4 separate regions of the Homo sapiens genome follow, and all the other regions are linked to region 1. The links are contacts of gene promoters, found by promoter capture Hi-C in blood cells and fetal thymus (Javierre and others, 2016). All regions are on one chromosome and are shown on one strand. The core of a region is centred on a gene start or on the middle of the fragment in contact, and the rest is flanking DNA. Distances in the headings are between cores, read along the strand shown.

The links. The method cuts DNA at HindIII sites, captures the fragments that hold promoters and counts their contacts. A CHiCAGO score of 5 or more calls a contact.
Region 2: a contact is called between a fragment that was not itself captured here and the fragment with the promoter of PTPN21 in region 1, in 4 of 17 cell types (activated CD4 T cells, total CD8 T cells, naive CD4 T cells and 1 more). The highest score is 8.1, in activated CD4 T cells.
Region 3: a contact is called between a fragment that was not itself captured here and the fragment with the promoter of PTPN21 in region 1, in 1 of 17 cell types (total B cells). The highest score is 5.0, in total B cells.
Region 4: a fragment that was not itself captured here is called in contact with the fragment with the promoter of PTPN21 in region 1 in 3 of 17 cell types (naive CD8 T cells, M0 macrophages and monocytes); the score reaches 6.4 in naive CD8 T cells.

What each region holds. Positions count from the first base shown.
Region 1 is chr14:88,553,255-88,556,880 of GRCh38, forward strand. PTPN21 (protein tyrosine phosphatase non-receptor type 21) reads right to left here and starts at 1,753. Exons shown (of 19, transcript NM_007039.4): 1 at 1,397-1,753. LOC124903405 (proline-rich protein 2-like) reads right to left here and starts at 3,536. Exons shown (of 2, transcript XM_047432047.1): 1 at 3,509-3,536; 2 at 1,403-1,806. The coding sequence starts at 3,536. The coding sequence ends at 1,442. RefSeq lists a silencer at 1,711-1,760. The HindIII fragment of the contact is 3,064 bases long and covers 1-2,642 here.
Region 2 is chr14:89,961,228-89,964,853 of GRCh38, forward strand. TDP1 (tyrosyl-DNA phosphodiesterase 1) reads left to right here. Exons shown (of 17, transcript NM_018319.4): 3 at 1,881-2,446. The coding sequence starts at 1,888. Among named protein-coding and RNA genes, the nearest start is that of TDP1, 7.1 kb to the left of the region's middle. RefSeq lists an enhancer at 1,649-2,848. The HindIII fragment of the contact is 1,634 bases long and covers 1,083-2,716 here.
Region 3 is chr14:89,943,333-89,946,958 of GRCh38, forward strand. The region is part of intron 3 of EFCAB11 (EF-hand calcium binding domain 11); the gene reads right to left. Among named protein-coding and RNA genes, the nearest start is that of EFCAB11, 9.6 kb to the right of the region's middle. The HindIII fragment of the contact is 4,864 bases long and covers 1-3,626 here.
Region 4 is chr14:89,915,334-89,918,959 of GRCh38, forward strand. All of the region lies in intron 5 of EFCAB11 (EF-hand calcium binding domain 11), which reads right to left. Among named protein-coding and RNA genes, the nearest start is that of EFCAB11, 38 kb to the right of the region's middle. The HindIII fragment of the contact is 4,035 bases long and covers 1-3,626 here.

The DNA.
Region 1 (3,626 bases), core at 503-3,002:
GTGTGTGTGTACATGGTGCATCCCCCCAAGATCTATCCATAAGAATGGCTTGCTTTTTGCTTATTTATATAAAACCCACTATGTTAAAACAATGATTTTGTTTAATAATTTACAAATTTATCAATGATTTATACATCTTAATTTTCAGTAATATGCAGTATTTGTTGCCAAATGGTGTAATACAATTATGAATGTCTGAAGATAATAAAACCAAGATGAGTAGAAATTTAAGAGTTCTTTGGGGAGGTCTGTTTCAGGTATAAAATAATATGCAATAATATGAAAGTGATTGGGTCTGGAATTATAATTTACTAAAGTAAACATAATTTATAAATAGCTATTAAAGGAAAACTAGGATATAATTTTTTCTCTACAAAATCTTTCCGTTTTGTGGTAAGTAAACAGATACATACTAGATTCTGCTTCAGTACAAGTTTACAAAAGGCAGTCTGAACTATTTGTGAATTCATTTTAATTTTCCCTCTCTACAACCCTTTCCAAAAGTTCCTCAAATACACTTTACCTCTCAATCTTACAGCGTTTCCCCTTTCCTATTAAGGTCCTTACCACATGTAATTTTGCCAAAGTTGCTTTAAAATAAAATAAGCACTAAAAGGAGAGAGTATGTGACATTTTTAGAGTAATATCTATAGCTATAGCATTAAACCCATGTTTCTCACGGAGAAAACATCTGTGCGTAGATGCTCCAGAATAAAATGCCCTAGAAACGAAACGGACTATATTCAGAGTAAAATTACTGTCGTGTCCCAAACTTAAAAAAATAAATAAACTGTCAGCAACTATTAGGCATACAGCAGTTGTCACTTGGAGCACACGAATGTTCTGAATGTGTTTGTGAGCATACGCTATTAGTATAAGGCTTTCTCAGCAAAAAAGAAAATAGGACGAGCATGCCAAGAGCGGCCAATCTAATCAGGATTTGCAGAAATCACAAGTCGGAATTTGCAGATCCAAGAATTCTTGTTTCCAGAGTAAATACTCTACTCCAAAAACAAACCCAGGCGTTACCAAACAGTCCTTCCCTGCGCCCCTTCTCGCCAAAGTTATCTGGCGAATTTCACGTTTATATATTCTGAGAGGCACAAATATGCCTAACACATTTAAAACCCTGATCCAGAATTAACCCGCAACAATCGGCCAGGGCGTTCGGAATAGAAGTTCAAGACTCCTTTTAGAAATTACTCAAGTATATGAGAGCGAACCTGAAAAACAAGACTTTTCTCTTTGTTACGCTCCCGCTACGGGTCTGGCCGCCGCGCCCCATTCTCCGGGATTCCGGGGCCGCGGGCGCGCTCCGGGGTCCGGGCGAGTGGACACACCCCACCGCTCGGGCCAGCCGCCCGCCCCTCCCGCCGGCCGGGGACCGCGCCCTCACCTGCTCCCGCTCCCGCTCCCGCATCCTCGGGGCCGCGCGCCCCGCTCAGCGACCCGCCTCCCGGGGCCCCGCCGCGCGGCCGCCGCAGCCGCACCCGCACGCCAGCCCGGGCCGCGGCGCGCTCATGGGGCTCGCACGCCTCACTTCCTGTCTCCAAAAACCCGGCTCGCAGACCATTCCCCTGGGCAGAGTCCGGCGGTGGCGACGGCGAGGGGCGAGGCCTGGAGGTGGGACCGGCCGGCGAGGAGCGCCGCACAAAGAAGCCCCGTGGGGGCGGGGGGTGGCAGGAGGACGGACAGACCGTCGGACCGACGCGGGACGCGCGGCCGGAGCAGCGGGGCGGCCGGGCCCAGGCGTCCCTCCCCCTGAGCCGGGCGGGCGGATCCGGGGAGGCGGCGGCGGCCCGTGACCTCAGAGAGTTGGAATGCGGGCAGCCGCGCGGGGGAGGCGCGGACAGCTGCGCCCGGCCGCCGGGGAGGGGGCGCGCCGCTGCTTTTTTTAATCGTATGACCACTTATTTTAAGAGTTTCCAAATAAAGCAAGGCTTTTAATAAAATGAGTGGAGGGGGTATTATTTAGGTTCCAGATAAAGGGTTTTATTCCTGTGTTATTAGGTAGGCTGTAAAATGCTGTTATTGATGGTTATTCGTTTACTCTGGTATATTTCTGAACACTATTGGAATACATTTCTTCTTTTCCTGCTTGCTCCTAAGGTTATGCCCCATATAACTAGACACTTCCAGTACTGGGTGGGAAAGCCCCCCCACCAAAAATGGTTCATATGCCTCAAATAACCTGTCAGTCCCCAAAAGGGAGCTGTCTGCTTATGCAATATAGAGCAGAACTGTTAAGGATGGAGACTTGACAAAGTTGTCAAATCCCAGCTCCAACATTTACTAGCTGGATGACCTTGTGCAAGTTTCTTAACTTCTCTTTACCTGTTTCCTCTCCTATAAAAGAGGGATATTAATATCTTTGCACAGCAGGGGTGGGGGAAATAAATACTAAGCAATATCCAATAACTTGTGTAAAGTATATATGAAGTGTTTCGTTTAAGGTTTATTATACAGTATTCTTGTACTGCATTATTACTGTATTGCAGCACTTAAGCTGAGGAATAAAACTGTGTGACCCTACCACTATTACAATAGTGTAAGATCTTTTCTTGGCATGTGGAACACAGAACCTTTTAATTTATGTAAATTTTAATTTCAGTGATTTTGTTTTAATGCTGTTGTTTCTGGAAAGCTTTTTAAAGTATTGTTTCATGTAAATCTCATTTTCTTAAACAATTAACAAAAACTTTTGAATACTTAACTCTGCATGAGACGTGGTCCCTGCACAACACGGACTTTTGGTTTAGTGGGTGATAAACGCACCTGCACACCACACACGCAGTACAAGGCCAAAGTGGGGAGCATTGTCATAGAGGTATGAGTGCTATCCAAGAGCAAAGCCCAGCAAGGTGCATCTTGGGTCGTTTAGCTAAAGGCAAATAAGATTACCTGTGTTTCTAAGGGAAAAAAAATAGATCAATTCTGTTTGTAATTGATATTTCAACTGAACTCTATGAGGGGGTCAATTTGTGTGTGAGCAAAGAAAAGAGATCTAAAAAGAAGTCACTTTGCTGGCTTCCCAAGGTAGAAAAACTGGAATCATGTGTGACTTCTCCCATTATCATCTCCAGCCTGTCATCAAGACCTGGTATTTCCTCCTTTGAAATGTCTCATGAATTCTTTGTTTCCTTTCTGTTCCCCCTGGAACATTCTAAATCCAAACCCTCATCATTTTACATCCGGATTATTGCAACAAGGGTGGTCTCCTGGCATCTGGTTTCTCAGTTCTCTCTTATTTCCTTGCTAATACCAGGCTTCCTTCTCTTATCACTCTTAATGGACTCCCAAGGTTAAGTTCTTCTGCCTGACCTATAGGGACTTTCCAAACGGGCCTCTCTGACCACCTATATCGCTTTCTGCCCCTGTCAAGCTTTGCCCCTGGCCAGCAGCCCCTCCTGCCCTCTTTCCACTTGTCTAAGCCTTCTGCTTCTCTGCAAGTAAGACTCTGCTTCCAGGATGACTTTCTAGCCACACCATTCCACAGTGATCTCCACACTTGGCAAGAACTGTAAAAGTTGTTTCATGACGGCTTCTTTTATATCTCCTAGGATTCCTAGGACAGTACTGGGCAAAGAGTAGGCACTAAATAAAAACTTGTTAATTGAATCAGGAAG
Region 2 (3,626 bases), core at 650-3,149, 1.4 Mb after region 1:
GAGACATGAAGGCACTCAGTGCTCAGCCTCTGAGGACTGGTCAGAACCAGTCTGTGGTTTCTTTTCAGGAGAAAGTTACTCCATTGTCCAATGACAGCTGCAGTCATGGCCTGTGGAACCAGAGGGGTCAGTTAGTCAAGCATCTGGCAGTAGGTGAGCTGCAATTGTTTAGATATTCCTTATCTCTAGGCCAGTGCTTATTTAGCTGCTGAAGAAAAAAGAACCTTGTGGAAGGTAGAACATAGTTTAAAGGTAGCAGTGTGTGATTTAACCCTTGCTTGGCATGGCCTTAGGTCTTGTTTATGATTTAGTGTCATATTGTCACAGAATCTATTCTGCCAGTCTTACGATCTCTGGTCAGTTGTGTTTAAACCGCAGAAGGGAGGGGATATAACAGGCATGTCTGAGCTCCCATCTCATCATGGCCCGGAACTCAGTTTTTAAGGTTTCTCTGGGGTCCCCTTAGCCAAGATTTTTATTTTTAGTTCTCATCTAGAGACATATGCATATGTATTGATTTGCAAATCTTTTGATGTAGAATAATGTTGAATTCTCTTTTTTGGGGAATGTAGGTTTTGTGAAGGGAGTGTCACCATCTTGGTTTACTCCACTCAATGCATCTTTTCCAGCCTCATTAAAACAGCAGAAACTCGAAGATACTGTTGATCTGAGCACAGACTACTGAGTTTTGTAATTTTCCCCTGGGTCTTGTGCTAAAATGTTAAAAGTATCACATTGAGGAACTGTTCTTTAGCTGTCTGGAAAGTCTACTTAGATAGTCCTTTACCACTGAATTGACAAGATTTGGTAGGTAACAGCAAAAGTGACTGTTTCGTGTACTTTCCTGTTCTCAGAACAAGAAAGTAGAATTTGACTGTGGGGCTTAAAAAATAAAAGTGTGTTGCTTCAGTACAAGTTATTTCTGTGTAGGTGTTAGTAGATTTATGATGTAGCCAATAGGATAATTATATCTTGATATAATTATATCCAACTAATTATAATTAGTTGGGTCCTCATGGAAGTAGTGTAAATAATGTACATACCTAAGTGGTCATTTGGCTTTCCTCTTGAAGACTTTGTTAAGCTTTATGGTAAATGGGTTGTCTTTTGGGAAGTAAGACATACATAATCACTGAAGTCCTGTGGGTGCCTGTACTTGGGTGAAGGCTAGGTTTGTAAATTCCAATTTGACCTTAAGCATTTGAACATAGATTAAATGGACCTTAATCCCAAACGCTTATTGGAAGTTTCGGGGTCAAGAATGAATGTTTGTTTTATTTTGGCATTTGTCTTGATGCATTCTTCAACCCCCTTTCCTAGGACATCTAAGAACAAAGTTTAGATTGAAAGCCAAGGCCAGGCATGGTGGCTTATACTTGTAATCCCAGCACTTTGGAAGGCCAAGGTGGGTGGATCTCTTGAGTCCAGGAGTTCAAGGCCAGCCTGGGCAACAATAATGAAACCCTGTCTCTACCAAAAAAAAAGAAAAAAAAAATTAGCCAGACGTGATGGCGTGCACCTGTAGTTCCAGCTATTCGAGAGGATGAGGCAGGAGGATTGCTTGAGCCCAGGAGGCAGATGTTGCAGTCAGCTGAGATTGAACCACTGCACCACTCCAGCTGGGTGACAGAGCGAGACCCTGTTTCAAAAAAAAAAAGGAAGAAAAAAGAAAGGTGACCAGGACTTTTGCTTGTGATTTGGCAGAATCTGATAGTGGATTCTGGTAATGTGCTTATAAACACCCAAAAAGCAGCTGATGTTAGGTGGTTCAGCCTCTGGAAGGTGTCAGCTCATCTGACAGGGAAGTTGAGAGCAATAAAGTTATTTTGCCAATGCCCTGATGAATGGGAAATGCTGATGTTTCCACTTTTCATTTCCAGGAGTATAATGTCTCAGGAAGGCGATTATGGGAGGTGGACCATATCTAGTAGTGATGAAAGTGAGGAAGAAAAGCCAAAACCAGACAAGCCATCTACCTCTTCTCTTCTCTGTGCCAGGCAAGGAGCAGCAAATGAGCCCAGGTACACCTGTTCCGAGGCCCAGAAAGCTGCACACAAGAGGAAAATATCACCTGTGAAATTCAGCAATACAGATTCAGTTTTACCTCCCAAAAGGCAGAAAAGCGGTTCCCAGGAGGACCTCGGCTGGTGTCTGTCCAGCAGTGATGATGAGCTGCAACCAGAAATGCCGCAGAAGCAGGCTGAGAAAGTGGTGATCAAAAAGGAGAAAGACATCTCTGCTCCCAATGACGGCACTGCCCAAAGAACTGAAAATCATGGCGCTCCCGCCTGCCACAGGCTCAAAGAGGAGGAAGACGAGTATGAGACATCAGGGGAGGGCCAGGACATTTGGGACATGCTGGATAAAGGGAACCCCTTCCAGTTTTACCTCACTAGAGTCTCTGGAGTTAAGCCAAAGTATAACTCTGGAGCCCTCCACATCAAGGGTAAGAGGATGCTGGGTGTCAAGGAGCTGTTGAATTGCCCTTGAGAGTCTCTCCTCCGTGAAACAAGGAGGGCAGCCTAGAATAGTTTCTGAGAACTCTTCTTTGTGTTCTTAACTACTTTCAGGAAAAAAATTCTTGACAGGCAAGTGCATTAGTATAACAGCAGACTGTTTACTTAACTCAGGCAGAGCGTGTGTTCTCAAAACCCTGTAGCTCAACCCCTTATATCACTTAGCACGATGTTTAGCATTATTTAACTTTTTAAGATGAAGCTTGATGAGTAACAGTTTATCAACAAGGTAGCAAATACTTGACAACAGTAGTAGTTCTCCATGGGCCCTGGACCAGCAGCCTCAGCATCACCTGCAACTTGTTAAAATGCAAATTCTCGGGCCCCATTCCCGATTCATTAAATTGGACTCTGAGGGTGAGATCCTGCAGTCTGTGTTTTCACGAGCCCTTGAGGGGATTCTACTGCCCAGTCAAGTTTGAGAACCACTGCTTAAAAGCCTGGTTTTAGTTCCTGGTGAAGAAGAAGAAGAAAAAACAAAATAGTGCCTGAGTGCAAATAGATGTTTCAGTTATGGATCAAAAGATGGCCTTAGTTTGCTCTCCTTATTCCTCAGGGAGCACCTGCAGGAGGAAGAGCAGGAGCTCTAGAATCTGCTTTCTGGCCTCACCACTCATTTGCTGTATGGATTGTTAACACAGGACCTAACATTCTCTGAATTTTAGTTTGCTCATCTTTAAACTGGAAATGCAGAAAAATGGGAGCAAATATATGAAGTAACCAGTGTAATATATTCACATGGCAGATACAATAAACATTATTACCCTTATTTCAGATTTTTTTCCTGTCCCATATTTAAGAATAGTAATGTTCACTGTCAGCAGTGTTGTTCTTTTTTTATATATCCAGTATATAATTGTATATTGTGTGTGATGTATACATGTTGGAGTATTTCATACTGTAGAGTGTTCTACAGGTTGTTTTCTTTTTGAGAATCTCTTATCTTGGTACTTTGTCAAGTTTTTTGTTTGTTTGAGACAGACTGACAAATATTTAGAGAATTTTGCCAAGTTTTGCTCTATATAATAAAATAACCGGCAATTAGCACCAAGGTATTGTGGTAACATGATAGGAGCTCTTACATATATTTTCTCCTTTAATCCTCAGGAC
Region 3 (3,626 bases), core at 350-2,849, 1.4 Mb after region 1:
CCTCCTGGGCTCAAGCAATCCTCTACCTCAGCCCCCTGAGTAGCTGGGACTGGCATGTACCATCAGGCCTGGCTCATTTTTGTATTTTTTGTAGAGATGGGGTTTCGCCATGTTGCTCTCGCTGGTCTCAAACTCCTGGGCTCAAGTGATCCACCCACCTTGGCCTCCCAAATTGCATGGGACTACAGGCGTGAGCTACCACACCCCGCCAATTTCAGTTCTTCAAGATCCAAACATTAAGAAGAGAGATAATATATGTGGAAAAACATTTAATCTGCACATGTGCTCTCTTCCTTCAAGAGAAATAGCATGTAAAATTGACTCGTATCAATAAGAGGGAAAGAAGAAAAAGTGGATGGTTTGAAATTGGTTCAGTATTGAACAATTCTAATAGAAAAATTGCATGTTAGCAGCAATCAGAGTACAGCAGTGATTTCTTGCTAGGCTATTTTACTCCTTTTCTTGAATGTTTGTGGTCTTGAGTTTCTCCAAATAAACACACACACACACACACATACATACACACTCACACTAGAGTACAGCTGGGAGAATACAGGTGGGGACTGTATTCTTTCTTCCAGAATCCATACCTCTCTGCACATTAGAGAACTAGTTAAGGAAAGAAAACATTCAGTGTGAAGTCAAATCCTTAATTCAAAATCAGAGAACATACAGAAGAAAGAAAGTCTATGAGAATAATGAATGTTAAAATGCCTTCAGCAATAGTCACACTTGATGTATCAGAAAAGCCACTGTATTAATCTTTTCTCATGCTGCTGATAAAGATGAGACTGGACGATTTACAAAAGAAAGAGGTTTAATGGACTTACAGTTCCACACGGCTGGGGAGCCCCCACGATCATAGCGGAAGGCAAAGAGGAGCAAGTCATGTCTTACATGAATGACAGCAGACAAGAGAGAGCTTGTGCTGGGGAACTTCTCTTTTTAAAACCATCAAATCTCGTGAGACTTATTCACTATCACAAGAACAGCCTGGGAAAGACCTGCCCCCATTATTCAATTATCTCCCACTGGGTCCCTCCCACAACACGTGGGAATTATGGGAGTTACAAAATGAGATTTGGGTGGGGACACAGCCAATCCATATCAGTAACATAATAGAGAAACACGATATTATGACTAGGGTAAGATCTTCATCCAGAAAGAATAACTCACTGAATATCAGGGAACTCTTAAGAAAGAGAAATCCTATCAATGCAAAGAATGTGGGAAATCCTTTTGCCAGAAAACAAAACTCTCTGTAGATTGGAATATTCACAAAAAACCCTAATGAAAAAAATGTAGAAAAGGCTTTATCAAGAAGTTGTAACTAATGGAACATCAAACATTATTCTGAATATTTTGAAAGTGAAAATTTTCAACAAGAAATTTAAAACCTGGAGCAATTCTATCAAGTTAGCGATTATATCAAGAACATGTTCTCCTAGCAATAATCCTGAAAGTCTTATTTTAAATGTGATTCTAAACCTTGTACATAAAGTGTATTAGATTTTAATACAATATTAATAAATCTAATAAAATATTAGATTTTATTAGATCTAATAATAAATCTAATAAAATATTAGATTTTATTAGATCTAATAATAAATCTAATAAAATATTAGATTTTATTAGATCTAATAATAAATCTAATAAAATATTAGATTTTATTAGATCTAATAATAAATCTAATAAAATATTAGATTTTATTAGATCTAATAATAAATCTAATAAAATATTAGATTTTAAATCTAAATGTTAGTAATCCCTGCTCTCTTTTCCCCCCCCACTCAGTGTGGGTAGTAGTTTCTCATTTTTATTGATTACCTCAACAAAATCAGCTTTTAATTTTTTCTTGTTTGTCCTCTTTTCAATTTCAACAATTTCCATTCCAATCTTTACTATTTCCTTTCCTCCACTTATTTCGGGCCTTATTTACTCTTTTTTGTAGTTAAAGGTAGAAGATAATTAAAGGTAGAAGCTGAGGTCATCAGTTTGACACCTTTATTCTTTCCTAAACATAGAAAGTTAGTGCTACCACTTTCCAAGTATTGCTTTCAATCCATCCTACAAAATTTGAAATGTGGTCTTTTCATTCAATTCAAAATACTTCCTAATTTTTCCCTTTTGATTTTTTCTTTGACCTATGAGTTATTTAGAAGTGTGCTATTTGTTTGGAACTTTTAAACTTTTACTTGGAACAACTATTTGCAACTTTTCCAGACAGCTTTGCTATTGATTTCTAATGTCGTTCCATCACAAAGAACATACTTTGTACTTTAAATGTATTGACATGTTTAATGGCCCAGAGTATGACCAATTTTATTAAATATACTGTGTAGACTTGAAAAGAATGTGTATTCTGCTTTTGTTGGGTAGAACATTCTATAGATTACAATTAGGTCACACTGGTTGACAGTGCTGTTCACGTCTCCTATATCCTTATTGATTTTATGTCTACTTGCTTAATTATTGATAGGGGTGTTGCAACCTCCTACCATCATTATGGATTTGTCCATTTTTCTTTACAGTTTTATTAGTTTTTTGCTTCATGTATTTTGAATTTCCATTATTAGGGGATTTTTTTTTTTTATTTTTTTTTTTGAGACAGAGTCTTGCTCTGTCACCCAGGCTGGAGTGCCGTGATGCAATCTGGGCTCACTGCAACCTCCACCTCCTGGGCTCAAATGATTCTCGTGCCTCAGCCCCCCGAGTAGCTGGGATTACAGGCATGCACCACCATGTCCAGCTAATTTTTTTGTATTTTTTCGTAAAGACGGGGTTTCATCATGGTTGGTCTCAAACTCCTGGCCTCAAGTGATTCGTCTGCGTTGGCCTCTCAAAGTGCTGGGATTACAGGCTTGAGTCATGGCACCTGGCCAGGGGCATAAATGTTTAATTCCCTTAATGAACTGGCTCTCCTTATCCCTGGTAATATTTCTTCTTCTGAAGTCTACTTCATCTGATATTAACATGCTCACTTTGGCATACTTTTGGTTAGTGTTCAGTACAGTATATATTTCTAATCTTTTTTGCCCTTATGTTTAAAGTGGGCTTCTAGGCAACACAGAGTTAGTTGGTACTCTTTTATCTAATTTAACAGTATCTCCCTTTCAATGGGGCTGTTGAGATCATTTACATCTAACTAAAACATTAATGATTGGATTTAAATCTACCATATTATTTTTCTACTTGTCTATTTCCATCTATTTTTTGTTCCCATTTTCTTCCTTCTGTTGAATTAATTAAGTTTTTTAAGAGATGAGGTCTCACTCTGTCGCCCAGGCTGGGGTGCTGTGGTATGATAATGGCTAAGTGCAACCTCAAACTCCTGGGCTCAAGGGATCCTGCCTCAGCCTCCCAGGTAGCTAAGATTACAGGCACGTGCCATCATGCCTGGCTTTTTTTTTTTTTTTGCTTTTTTGTCGATTCAGAGTCTCATACTATGTTGACCAGACTGGTCTTGAACTCCTGGCATCAAGCAATCCTCCTGCCTTGGCCTCCCAAAGTGCTTGGATTACAGGTGTGAGTCACCACTCCCAGCCAACTGCTGTCATTTTTATCTTTGTTCCTATTCATATGTGTCTTTTTTTTCCCTAGATACACTTATGATTTTTTAACATACT
Region 4 (3,626 bases), core at 697-3,196, 1.4 Mb after region 1:
AATTTGGGCATATGTTTTCAGTACAAATTTTTCAAAAACTACGAAAAATAACGCTTATTAAGAAAGGCTCCTGGTTAACCTTCTGTTCTTTCAATCAGTTTCTTAGCAGAGTTTTTGGCACCACCAACTGGTGAAAGAGGTGTACTGCAAAGGTGCTCGGCTCTCAATCTGTTTGGTTCATTAAGAGAGGATCATGCATTTATTTCATATTTAATTTACGGTGAATCAATTTATTTTAGTCACTAAATAAAATTAGAAATGCATTTCTTTGTCAGTCAAATAAATAATAATCCACTCTGGCTTTTTCACCTGAGAAGAAAGTATGTTTTGGTTAGTAAAGGTCATCAGAGAAAACTCAATCTACCCACCAAAGTTAATTTGATTTATTCTGCCATAAACTCACACTCAAAAAGCAAACACTGAGAACTACAATGAAAATTAGGAACTAAAAGAGAGAGCAAACTAAATGGTATCAAATACTATGCTAGCCTACAGTGTTTATATAAGACATTAATTTAACCGGAAATAAAAATGATTGAGGAGGTAATTTCACATTTGTTAAAAAATTGAACTTTTCCCACCAAGATTCCTGTCTCAAAGATGGATGCTGCCATTTGACATGTGAATATATATGCTATCTAGCCATCCTTCCTGTTTAATTGAGCCACACCTAGCAATGGATACCAGTATCAAGAGAGCAGAGCCAAGCCCTTAAGGCACAACTCCGATCTCTGCACAGTGAATCATGAAAATAAATACCCCTGAAGAACAGTCTAATTTTTCCCCCCAAAACAATTTGTGTTTTCTAGGGAGAATGGCTCAGAAAAAAAAAAAAGAAAAAAAGAAAAAAACAACAAATTTGTGGATACAAGTTGTCTATGAGAAGTACATCTAGCTACTTGTGATGATAAATTTGTAACCCACAGAATAAATGGCACCAACTCTATGACAAAACTGGTCATTGAAGAAACTTCTTTACTAGACAATGTGAAAGAGACAGAAAAAAGGAAAGAACCATCCAAAGAATCAAATTTGACTCTGATGGCAGGGTTTGGTTAAAAGCCATCTGACAGAGTTTAAAACTACTGTGACAATTTTGTGATAATAGCAGTTTAAATCGCTATACAAATGTGTACTCAATTCATATTTGTTAAAGCCTCCAAGTCTAAATCTCCAATTGAAAGCCTAGTAAAGAAGACCATTTGAAATAGGCCCAGAAAAAAGTAAGGGCCAGCAGCTGCTCTATCCAATTCAACACATAATTTGAACATGTAAACTTTGATCAGATTAATTCTATTCCTTCGTTCATTTCATTCATTTATTTGTTCATGTATTCGTCAAATACTCTCTCCTGCAAACAGAGTTAAATTTTTACAAGGAGAGAACAAGAGTGAGACCCTCCTGCCCCTTCCTCTCCTTGGACAAGAGTCTTGATATCCCACGGCAAGGATTTCTAATTGAAGTCATGACTGGATTATGAGGAATCCTAACAATAAGACTTGGGTTAAGAAAAGCATTTTTAAACTTTTATTTGTTTCTTATATCCTTTAACATGACTCATGTCATGAGTCTCACTAAGTCTGTGTAGACATTTTTTGAGGTATGACTGACAAAAAATTGTCTATATTTAAGGTATACAAGATGACGTTTTTATAAAAGTATACTTTGTGTAATGACTCACAGTCAAGCTAATTAGCATATCCATCACCTGACATGCTTCGTGTGTGTGTGTGTGTGTGTGTGTGTGTGTGTGTGTGTGTGTGTATGTGTGTGTTGAAAACACTTAAGATCTGCTCCCTTGGCAAATCTGAAGTACACAACACATTAACTATAGTTACCATGCTGTACACTAGATCACTAGAATTCATTCACCCTGTAACTAAAATTTTGTATCCTCTGACCGACATCTCCCCATCTTCCCCACTTCCCAGCCCCTGGCAACTACCATTCCACTCTTTTTCTCCAAGTTTGACTAGTTTAGATGTCACATATAAGTAATATCATGCAATATTTGTCTTTCTGTGTCTGGCTTCTTTCACTTAGCATAATGTCCCCAGATTCCTCCATGCTGTTGCAAATGGCAGGATTTCCTTCTTTTTTAAGGCTGAATAATATTCTGCTGTACACACATACCACAATTTCTTTATCCATTCATCCAGTGGTGGGCACTTAATATGGGTTTCCATATCTCGGCTATTGTGAATAATGCTGCAATTAACATGGGAGTGCAGACATTTTATTCTACCTGTAAATTCAGTCTACTCCATCATTATCATTACTAGGCAGTGGCATTTCTAAACAAGAAAATAACATTTTGAGGTTATGAAAACACTTGACCATTAACAAGTACCAGCAACATGATTATAATCAAATAAAAAATTCTGATTGCCCTAGGGGCTTGGTTCTGTGACTTCTTTGACCAAAAAAATAATAATAATTGCGAATTAGTTGTTTGGTTTGAATTGAGCAATAAAGGACTCTCAGCTTTAACTGTAAAATGGATAGAAATGCCGTTGATGTGGAGAGTCACTGTAAGGACTAAGTAAGGCAACACGTAGTTGGTAATCAATGAACGGGAAGCACTGTGACTGCAGTGGACAATACAGTGCAATGAAAGCTGGGGAAGAGCGAGAATCGAGGACTGGCTCTCCAGGCAGGGTGTGAATGCTGTGAGAAGCTGGCAACAATGAACCCTGAGAAAAAGGACAGGGGACAACTGGAGGTACTTAGTTGGGGAGAGCAGCTTTCTAGGATGGATATGAGTATATCTTCAGGCAGGGATAGGCATTATAAACAGAAGTGGGAATGGCTGATGGAGAAATGTCTTAGATCAAAAAAAGGGGAAGAGAGAAGACCAGAACAAAAGAGAGGAATTAGGAAAAAAAGAAGAGACCCCTTTTCCTCAGAAATAAAATTAAAGGAAGGCTGGGCGTGGTGGCTCACGCCTGTAATCCCAGCACTTTAGGAGGCCAAGGCAGGTGGATCACCTGAGGTCAGGAGTTCCACACCAGCCTGACCAACATGGTGAAACCCCATCTCTACTAAAAATACAAAAATTAGCCGGGCATGGTAGCACACGTCTGTAATCCCAGCTACTTGGGAGGCTGAGGCAGGAGAATCGCTTGAACCCAGGAGGTGGAGGTTGCAGTGAGCCGAGATCACACCACTGCACTCCAGCCTGGGCAACAGAGCGAGACTCCATCTCAAAAAAAAAAAAAGAAGAAGAAGAAGAAAGAAAATTAAAGGAATACAGAAAAGAGATGAAGAGAAGGCAGTAAACCCAGGAAGAGGCCATGATCCTCTCCATGAAGAAAAAGGCAAGATCACCTGCAAAGCACAGTAGTGGGAAAGGTTTGGTACAACCATCACAGAGAATACATCCTTACAGAGAGAGCAAGAGATTTGATCTCATATGACAACTCTAATGAGCTGGCTTGGGGTATTGTACTGAGAAGAACTCTGAGTTCTGCAGAAGAGGGCAGCCACAGGTACAGGAGGGGTCAGTGGCAGGCATGTCAACTACGTGCCATCCCTATAACAGGGAACTGAAGCCAGCTGAGTTACATTTCTCCTGGATAGCAATAGGGGTATTGTCTGACCTGAGTGACAGGCATACCAGATCTCTG